Regions from separate parts of the Homo sapiens genome. Here regions 2 and 3 are each linked to region 1. The links are contacts of gene promoters, found by promoter capture Hi-C in blood cells and fetal thymus (Javierre and others, 2016). All regions are on one chromosome and are shown on one strand. Each heading gives the region's core, a stretch centred on a gene start or on the middle of the fragment in contact. The rest is flanking DNA. Distances are from core to core; before and after follow the strand shown. Region 1 holds the start of NBAS (NBAS subunit of NRZ tethering complex). Region 2 holds the start of TTC32 (tetratricopeptide repeat domain 32). Region 3 holds the start of LPIN1 (lipin 1).

What was found. Contacts are between HindIII fragments. The CHiCAGO score rates a contact against its expected background, and 5 or more counts as called.
Region 2: a contact is called between the fragment with the promoter of TTC32 here and the fragment with the promoter of NBAS in region 1, in 10 of 17 cell types (naive CD4 T cells, naive CD8 T cells, non-activated CD4 T cells and 7 more). The highest score is 17.1, in naive CD4 T cells.
Region 3: the fragment with the promoter of LPIN1 here is called in contact with the fragment with the promoter of NBAS in region 1 in 6 of 17 cell types (total CD8 T cells, naive CD8 T cells, erythroblasts and 3 more); the score reaches 8.4 in total CD8 T cells.

What each region holds. Positions count from the first base shown.
Region 1 is chr2:15,559,749-15,562,989 of GRCh38, forward strand. NBAS (NBAS subunit of NRZ tethering complex) reads right to left here and starts at 1,586. Exons shown (of 52, transcript NM_015909.4): 1 at 1,440-1,586. The coding sequence starts at 1,556. LOC105373440 (a long non-coding RNA gene) reads left to right here and starts at 2,400. Exons shown (of 4, transcript XR_001739297.2): 1 at 2,400-2,435. RefSeq lists an enhancer at 1,376-1,785. The HindIII fragment of the contact is 4,253 bases long and covers 1-1,612 here.
Region 2 is chr2:19,900,272-19,903,512 of GRCh38, forward strand. It overlaps TTC32 (tetratricopeptide repeat domain 32), which reads right to left and starts at 1,712. Exons shown (of 3, transcript NM_001008237.3): 1 at 1,435-1,712. The coding sequence starts at 1,583. RefSeq lists enhancers at 673-1,554, 805-994, 1,135-1,194, 1,275-1,374, 1,555-2,435 and 1 more. The HindIII fragment of the contact is 3,134 bases long and covers 1-2,837 here.
Region 3 is chr2:11,745,087-11,748,327 of GRCh38, forward strand. It overlaps LPIN1 (lipin 1), which reads left to right and starts at 1,546. Exons shown (of 21, transcript NM_001349206.2): 1 at 1,546-1,585. It overlaps LOC124907735 (a long non-coding RNA gene), which reads right to left and starts at 373. Exons shown (of 2, transcript XR_007086220.1): 1 at 1-373. RefSeq lists enhancers at 1-286, 2,798-3,241 and a silencer at 1,225-1,794. The HindIII fragment of the contact is 2,521 bases long and covers 1-2,481 here.

The sequences.
Region 1 (3,241 bases), core at 336-2,835:
CAAAGTGCTAAGGGTTTCAAAGTAAGTTAATTCTGTGGTTACTTTTTTGGAATCAATTTATGGTAAGCATTCTGAAACATTACTGCAATTAACCAATGAGTGTTAAGGAGTGGAAACTTATCTAACCAGCTGCCTCAGCAACAGCTTCCTAGCTGCATAACCCAAAAAATATTCACATTAAGACAAACTAAGTACTTGAAATTAAACAGTAATATATGCAGATCTCTACCCGTCTACAAAATAAATTATTCATGATAAGCACAAACTGCAGTGGGAAGGAGGCTACAGAGGAAAAAAATACAAACTTTGGGCTGAAAAATGAGTCGTTTCTCCAGCAAAGAAACACTCAGAAAAAATGTAAGATAACTCACATGGGCTGGACTACATAATCTTTAATAAAGGTTCTTTTCGATCTGGCTGCTTCCTCTGGGTCTAAAACAGTAACTGGCACGTGTTAAGCACTCAATAAATATCTGTTAAATAAACATGGATCCAAAAAATAATAATAATAAAAAATAAAATAAAATAAACATGGATCCATGGTTCCTACTCTTCATCACAGACCCGGGAGGCCTTCACTACCAAACAACTGATAATCCCAAGATCCAGTCCATAAATTATCAACCTCTATAACCCTTCTGTAGCGGAGATCCCAATCCCAGTCAGCAGCTCTTTACTCTGCACTTCCGTGGCATTTTGCTCACATCGCTAACTATAGCGCATAAAACGCTAGGTTATGAAAAACGTTTACGGGACTGTCTCCCCTCTAGACGAGAAGCTCCACGAAAACATATTCATCTCTGTATCCTTAGCACCTAGCACAGCACCTGTGACACCGAGACAGACGAACGGACACGCACACCCTTATTAAATGCTCTTTTATTGAAACACACAAGACCTGGCGCGATCCAGCCCCCAGTATGGGTAAAGGCTCAGATTCTGCGCTCTGCACCAGCCTGGCAGATGCTGCAGACTGTAAGGTCCTGGAAAATTCTCCCATCGCAGTTGAGCGTCGGCCCAGACTAGCCCTAGCCAGACCGCGAGAAGGGACCACTGAGGGTCCAGATAGGAGAAAGGACCCTCGAGTCCAGCGCTGTGCCTTCCCCTCCTAATACAGAGAGCGACACTAACAATCCCCTCTCCTCCCAATACAGAGAGCGAAACTGAGAACCAAAGTGGGATCGTACGCTCCCCAGAGCACGAAGTTCCAGCCCCCAACAACCGAATTCTGAGCCCAGGAAGAATCTCAGGGACCACCACCCCACCCCGCCCTAGACCCCCGCTAGCCCAAGGTGCCGTTGCCAAGGCGACCGCACAAGCCAACCGGCCCTAGTCCCCCACCCACCCGTCTCCACTCCCCTACGTGGCTCCTGCTACGTGGCTCTACCCACGAAGCGCCCGCGCCAAGCTGGCTGCTGCTGTAGATGGGCCTGGTTCACCTGTACTTCAGTCTCCGGTGGCCACTCGGTGTTGACCAACAAGTCATAGAGAATCGTCTCCTCCTCACCCTCTGCAGTGCCTGGACTCAAAGCCGGCCCTGACTCGGGGGCCGCCATGTTCGCCGAGGACTCAGGCAGCGGAGGAGTGTCTCTACGGAATCCCTCACAGGACAAGCTTCTCTATCCGCGGCCGCTTTTGTTTCACGGCAAGGAAATGCTAGGTTAACCCTTTTATGAGTAGGAAGGACAGGGACTATTGCTTGTCTTGGGAACGACTTGTGTCCCGGTCCTGATACACTCCTTGTTCATTAATCTACATGAGATCGGCCAAGTCATTGAGCCTCTCTTATAACTCAGTTTCCATAAAACAGAAATGGTAAAGGTACCCCACTGAAATGCTAATGTTCATTTGTATATTCTTTGCCTAACACGTAGAGAGAGTTCAAACAGTGGTTTTAAAATAAACAACTAAAGTTATCCAATGAAAGGTAGCAGAGGAAGGATGCTACAGGAGCTCAGAAAAGGCAACGAAGGCCAGAGTCTGCAGGGATTTCCTGGAGGACGTGGAGCTTGTCCCTGCGTCTTTAACAATAGGCAGAATTTTAATCTACTGGAGAAGCATTTCAAGTAGCGGGAAATGGAATGAGCAGAGACAGAGGCAGAAATACAGAGTTGAAAGAACTCTTTCAACGTGTCGCCAGTGAGTGACGACTTTCTCAGTGTGGGAGTAAAAGAATTTACCAAGACAGTGGTAGATAAAGAAAGACAGATTAAAGAAAGTATGAAAGTTCGTTGCCAGGGAGCAGCGGGCCGACTCAGCAGAGGAGGAGCTCATTGCTAGGAAACAAAGGCTTGTTGAGAATTTTATAGACTGGAACTTGGAGTGATTGATAACACCAGGTAGCAGGGAGTTAACTTGCTTTTTTTTTTTCTTTCTTTCTTTTTTTTTTTTTTTTTTTGTCAGCTGAAGTGTTTCAGAAATTGAGGCATTTGAAGGTAAGCAGGAAGTTTGTGAGTTAAGTACGTTATCTGGGTAGAAGGGCCATATGTCCTGGGCCATAAAGAAAAGTAGACCTATGGCTTATTTGTTTCTTCCTTTTGTTTATATGTTTTGGACCATGAAGAAAGACAGACGTATAGCTAATTTGCCTTATCTCTTTGTTTTTCCCTGCTCCCACTAGCCTGCCTTTTTTTTTTTCCTAATTAGTACTCAACAAGACGGGTGAATAGAACCCAAGTTGAGAAAGGGTGTAGGGGCAATAAAGTTGAAATAATAGGTTGAGAACCCGCATGGAGGGAGCGAAAAGGTCAACCCCATTTGTTCATTCATTCATTCATTCAACAAATACCTCTTTGTGGACAGTTATAAGCAGAGCCTACTGTAACATGAATGAATATATACTGTACAAAGTATTACACTGTTTCACATCAAAAGAAACACAAATACTGAATATCCCTTGAGATAATTATATTCATGATATCCATCAAGATGCATTAGGCGGTGATGCAATTAAAAGCCTCTGCTGGGAAGCCTCTAACCAGCTCCCATTTCTCTCAAAGTTTAATGACCTCAAAGCCCTACGTCATCTGCCTGCTCCCCTAAATCTCACACCTCATTTCCTGCTCCCCCTACTACCTTCAGCCACACTGGCTCTATTTCTGAACACACCAGACACACATCAACTTCAGGAGTTCTGCAAAGCCTGTCCCCTCCACTTGGAAGGCTTTCTACCAGATGTTTACCTGGTTCCTCCCTTATCTCCTTCAAGTTTTTGCTCAAATGTCGTCTCTCTCTGAAGCCT
Region 2 (3,241 bases), core at 462-2,961, 4.3 Mb after region 1:
TATGTTTACTTATCTTTTTTATGGGGGAGGTGCACTGAGGAAAGTAGATGGTATCATCTTATTGCCTGTTCAGAAACTTCTATTATTATTCTTGTGTGTTATTGAAATGAGAAGGCAATTTTCTTTCTGGTTTAATTCCATGTAGCGTAACAAACAGGGTAAGAATCAAGTCCTTAGTGTTTAGTTAAGCCTCATACAAAAGACAAGCTGGCATCCTGTCCAGAAAACTCAAATCCACAACAGACAACTCACAACTATTCAAAAAGCTGTTCAACCAACCCCTCTGTTCTTTTCTCATCCTGATCCACTCCATACCATCAACAAGCCCAGTCGAGGCAAGACTTGGAGTAAAAACAAATGCTACACATCCAGGCACAAGCCGAAAAGATGCTTTGGGCAAGCAGACAGTAACAGGTGAAGCCGCTCACATCACAAAGAGAAAGTCAGCGAATCGTTATGTGCTTCCTGGTGAAAGTACACACACCCACCTAAAAAGTATTCTTGCCATGATATTGAATCTGAATTCAATTGGATCAAACCTCAAGGTTTAACCACCAATTCACAGCAATATGAGACAGATGACCACATTAAACGACAGAAGAGATTCAGTCAGCAAGTCCAAAACACGGAAATTCAAAGGACACAAGAATCGGTTTCCTCAACAAATAAAGAGGGGAAGGTGGAGAAGAGACTTAAAAAGACTTGATGTGTATCCTGACTTGAACTAACTGCGAAAAGGGAACCAAAGAACAAAACACCTTATTAGTCGATCAGAATGGTTCCAACACTGACGACTTGATATTAAGTAACTATGTGATGATGACATGGTGGTTCCTTCTGAAACATCCATGGATGAATACAATAGGTAAACTGATAATGCTTAAGCCAAGTGATAAACACCTAGACGTTCGTTATGCTCTCTTCCACATATTTAAACGTTTTTCACAAGTGAAAAACACCACCAAGAGCCTGCGCCGTGACACTGAGATGGGAGTCGCGGTACTGTGGCCCTACGCAGCCGTGACCCCTTCCCTTCCCAGGTCGCGGATTTCCCGCCAGCTAAAATCACGAGTGGAAAATTCCTATCTGTCCTAAGTCTCTGGGTGCGAATGAGGAACGTGGAAGGAGAGACGGCGGGGTGAGAGGCGGCGGCCCGCGCCCGAGGATCGCGCAGAGGGCTTGGTTCCCGGAAATCTCTCCGCACCGTCGCGGCAGCTGGCTCCTCACGGGTGGGCTTCTCCCCGCGTTCTCCGCCGCCCTCGTCCTAGGCCTCGCCTAGGCCTTTCTAGAAAGACGAACGTCCGCCCGCTCAGTCCTAGTGCTGGGTTATGACAAGCGCCGACCGTGAGCTCCAGAGGCAAAGATAGGAGCCCAAACAACCCCAACGTCGCCTCCACCCGGGGTCGCCGCGGCCCCAGGTCTCGCGATAGTTACCTCCCGGGACTCTCGTCGCTGGAGGCCGCGCAAGCGCACCGGCGAATGTAAGCGGAGTACAGTGCCTCGGCCTCCGCGTACTCTCCATTGTTGAAATGAGCCTGGGCGAGTGTTAGGGTTGCGTGGCTTTCTTGCCGCTGTCCTTCCATAGCAGCCAAGGCCTAGTTTTCGGTGTAGAATGGGGGTTGACCTCCGAGCGGTTAGAGGTGGCACCACAAAGCCACTTCCACACCCTGGAATCTACCTTGACAGCCAACCTTGGCGCTAGGTTTGTGCCTTATGGGGATCCGTCGTCTCGCGAGATAACGGTTCCGCTGCTGGCGGGGCGTTTGCAGTGGCCCTTGTGAACTATGTTTCTGCCGTTACCAGTGTTGGACCCGCCTTCCTCTTTTCCTAGAAAAGGCGCAGATGCGTGGTCGCAAACTGATTTCCAAGTCCGTTGTCTGATGCTGCGAGACACTATCCGTTTGTTACAGCGAATTGGGGGCCGATGACGCTGGAGGTGGAAGAAGCCGCGGTTCTGTTTCTTAATGGCGAATTAGCCTGCGGACGTCCTGTCATTCCCTTGCCTTTTAGCGTCCCAACTTAGCAAAACTCCGCGTTTAGGGTGTTCTGAGTAGGCTTTGTCTACCCTGAAACGCTTTGTGTCGACATTCCACCAGGTCTGTTCCACGGTCCAAACTTCTCTACCTTTTTTGACCCTCTAGAATTGTGTTACGATTAGTAGTATATTGTGTCGAGAGTCTGGGATCTTTGATGTTAGTTATATTCCCTGGCTGTTTATGCCAAAGGGAAATCCAAATAGTAATTTATTACGTACATTACGTATAATTCAAATTAAAATTTTGTAAGAACAGTTGCCAACCACGCTACCCTACATGCCTGCTGTGTATCTTCTCGGCGTCCCTCGATTCTGTTTTGCTTCCCAAAGTACTTGAGCCCTTTCCGTCATAAAAAGTAAAGATGAAAAATATATTTGGAGCATGATACTTACATGCGGAAGTCTTAACAGGACATAAATTGTGTGCTTTTGGCTGCTTTCATTAGATTTTTAATTTTTTCCTTTTACCACCACTGAAAAAAATACAAATACAGTGGATTAAGGTTAAATTAAAAAGCACTAGTAGAAATTAAAAGATTGCAAGACTACAAAAAAATAAACTGGCATTTCTGGTGTAAGCAAATGGACAGCTCAATAGAACAAAAGCCCAGAAACATACCTCAAATAGGCTGTATTTTGTAAAAGACATGTAACATATATGGGGAAAGGACAGATTATTCAAATGAGTGCTATTGGGAGGATTAGTTAACCATTTGGGGAAAAATACATTTAAGCATTTAAGCTCCCAATTGACATAATATTCATTCCAGGTGAATTAAAAGATTAAATAAATAAGATAAAAAGCTTTTTTTTTTCAGTTCCCATTTATTTTTGCCTCTTGGAGCAATGTCATCTTTTCAATATGAAAAAAACAAAACAAAAAACAAATCTGAAGTACAGGATAGAACAAAACCAAGTGTGTTGGGGGAAGCAACAGCAAAGGGAAGACAAGATGTTGCAAAAAAAAAAATGGAGGGGGGATTCCCCTCTCCTCTGGGGAATGACTCAAACACTGATGTGGCAGCGTACACTATTCTACATAAAGCCAGGGATGTTAATCCTTTTGGGGGATAAGAAAAAGTGGAGATGGCCAGGCTCTGTGGCTCATGCCTGTAATCCCAGCACTTTGGGAGGCCTAGGCGGGCAGATCACCTGAGGACAGGAGTTTGATAACAGCCTGGCCAACATGGCAAAACCCCGTCTCTA
Region 3 (3,241 bases), core at 296-2,795, 3.8 Mb before region 1:
ATGCTGTTTCTAAGCTGGCCTCCTCCCTGGCCCTCTGCATCTCAGCAGAGCAGCGGTTCCATCTCCACACTGAGACTTGCCTTTGAGTATCGCATCACACACCTCCACCGGTTCCATTCATCAGTAAGCCTGTGGGTTTTGCCTCCAAATCTCTCTGAAGTCCTTCCGCTTCTTGCTGAGTAGCCCCTGTAATCTGAGCCACCATCATGTCCCCCGGTTTCCTGCAGTGCCACCTGTCTGCTGGCTTCTACTCCTGCAGTCCATTTTCCATGGAGTGGAGGGGTGACTTTTTAAAGAAGTAAATTAGATCATATAATTCCCAGGTTTAAAATTCTTTTTGGACCAGGCGTGGTGGTTCACACCTGTAATCTCAGCACTTTGGGAAGCCAAGGTGGGAAGACTGCTTGAGCCCAGCAGTTTGAGACCAGCCTGGGCAACATAGGGAGACCTGGTCTCTACAAATAGTTTGAAAAATTAGCTGGGCGTGGTGGCATGCACCTGTGGTCCCAGCTACTTGAGAGGCTGAGGCAGGAGGATTGCCTGAGGCCAGAAGGTGAAGGCTGCAGTGAACCGAGATTGTGCCACTGCACTGTAGCTTGGGTGACAGAGTGGGACCCTGTCTCAAAAAGAATTGGTTTGGAATAACATTTAAATAATACCTAAACTCCTTGCCTTGGCCTACAAGACCTGAATATTTGGCCCCTGCCTTCCCTCCAGCCCACAGCACCGGCCCCAGGACCTTTGCACCTGCCATTTCTGCTCTCCAGAAAGCCCTGCCTCCTCCCCATCTTTGTAGTCATAGGTGTTTCTTGTCATTTAGAGTTTCAGTTCAAATATGACACCCTCCCATTGATGGAAATCATTTCACCACCAGACGTTATGTGGCTCATTGTTTATCCGCTGCCTGCCTCCCGGCTGGAGAGGCGCAGGGAGCTGCCTGTCCCTCCTGTTCAGAGCCACCGTTCCGCACCTGGACCACCGCTTGGCAGAGGCGGGAGTGGAGGCTGTCACCATCAGGATGAAGGACAGGGGTGGCCCGGCGTGGAGAAGCTAAGAAGAGATGGCGATAGGTCAACGCGATTGCGCCTTTAAGGTGGAAGAAACGAAGGGCGAGGGTCAGTAAAGTCAAGGACGGGCTCAGATCCCGCCACTGGTGATAAGCGGGACCCATAGGACCGACGTGATCGCGGCCAGGCCCTGGGTGGTTTACCTGGACTTTTACCTGGCTGCCTTTTCTCTGCACCCCTCCGTCCTCACTCCCCCAGTCATCGGCATAGGTCAAGTCAGAGTGTTGAAGAAACACACGAGTTTGGCTCTGGAAAGGAAAATCAGAAAGGCGGCCTAAGGGGCCCCACCCCCAGGAACGCTAAGATAGGCGGCCAGGGGTGAGCGGGCAGGGCCGGCCAGCAGGCCCTGAAAGCAGCCGGGCCACCAGCGCGTCCCGAGTCCCCCTCGCACCGCCCCGCTTGCCCCGCCCCTGCCCTCTGCCCCCGCCCCTGCCCCGCCCCCGAAGGCGAGCTGCGCTGACAGCCGGCGGCGGGCTGGGTGTTTGCAATACAAAGGCGGCCACGCGCGGCGCCGCTCGGTGAGTAGCCGCCGCCTCCAGCCTCCCGCTGTGGAGCAGGGGCCGCAGCCTCGGGTTAGGCGGGGCGGGGCGCGGCGCCGGGGCGCTGAGGACGCGTGGCGAGGCGGGGGCTCGGCCCCGGGGCCCGAGGACCGACGGCCGGGCTACGTCCCCGGGGCCCTCTACGGGAAGTGGTTCGGGGGAGGGAGGCGGGGAAACAGGCCCCGGAGGCCGGGAGGGCCTCGCGAGCATCCCTCGGGCCTGGCTTTCCTGACGCGCCGCGAGGCCCGGTGTGGGCCCGGCTTGGCTGATCTCGAGCGGCGTAGGGGCCACTGGGGGCTGCCGCGCAGTCCCAGAACCGCGGGGACTAGCTCCAGCCGGCCAGCGCGGGTGCGTCCTGGCTCTGCGCGATCATCCCCAGCTTTGCGCCGGGGACTGGGATGAGAGCCTTTCTTTCCCCCGGAGTTAGGATTCCAGCGCTGCAGTTGAGGAAACTGAGGCTCAGGGAGGTTGACCTCTGTGCCCAAGGTCATACAGTTGCCGGGCGGCAGGGCAGGCTGAGCCCAGGTTGGAATCCCGGTTCTCATATTACAGCTCTCCCCTGCGAGGCCTCTGCACCTTTCTTGCAGCCTAGGAGGTGCTAGGCCTAGTGAGCTCCGTCAGCTGCTCCTGCACGTAATTTTATTATGGGCAAGGCCAGGAAAATGCAGGATGAGAAGTAACGTTTTGGGAGTAACTTAAGTGCTGTGGAGCTAGAGTAGGTAATTTGTGTGGTCAGTAGTTGCTGGAGAAAGCAGATGTCAACCCTGTTTTTGATCAGCAAGCAGGAAACCAACTAAGACAACTGGCAGTATTAATTTGGAGATGTTTTAGAACCCGGCAGTTTCCCACAGGATAGAAGTGTTTTGGGAAATCAAAGCTTGTAGCCGTTTTTTTAATTGGGGGTGTTGTGGTATGGTGGTCTAGGGGTAGTGATTGTGAGATTGACTGTTTATCCTTTGTTCCGTAATTTGGGTCTTATTAATGAAAGTAAGCAGTTGAGGAATGTATAGTATTTGAGAAATAAGCACATCCACACATGAACACTTTTCTTGCTCCCAGATTCTTGTTGAAAGGTGTAACAGTTGGATTTATGATTATATACTTTGATAGCACTTCACGTTTGCCAGCATTTGTTATTGAGTGTTTTTGTGCATGGGTTGTGTGTTTTGGCGCTTATTATTCCTATTTGCATGTGGGGCCCTGTGGTCCTGTGGAGCCAGGCCTGGATATAGCCCTGGACTCGGGTCGGGAGGTCTGGGCTCTGCCTGAGCTCTGTGGGACCCTGAGCGAGTTCTTTCACCCACCCAGGTCTCGCTTATCAGCAGTTCCTTTCTTTTAGAAAAGCACAGGGGGACAAGGGGCGGACCTGCTGAGTCTTGTGGTGTGGGAGAGAACGCGAGGGTTCAGGTGAGAGACCGCAGGGATTCCTGGTTGTAGGGGGGACCTTGGAAGTGACTGAGAAGGAGCCTGCCCTGGATTAGGTGGGGACAATTGGCCTGGCCCAGCCAGAAGGAAGTCTGTGGGTCCTGCTCTCCTGCTCTTTGCGTGGTCAGCTGCACAAAGGGCCCAGAACAGACGGCAGGGGAGGGTCAGGAGATGAAAAGATATTTCAGAAGAAGGTCCTGAGGCCACCGT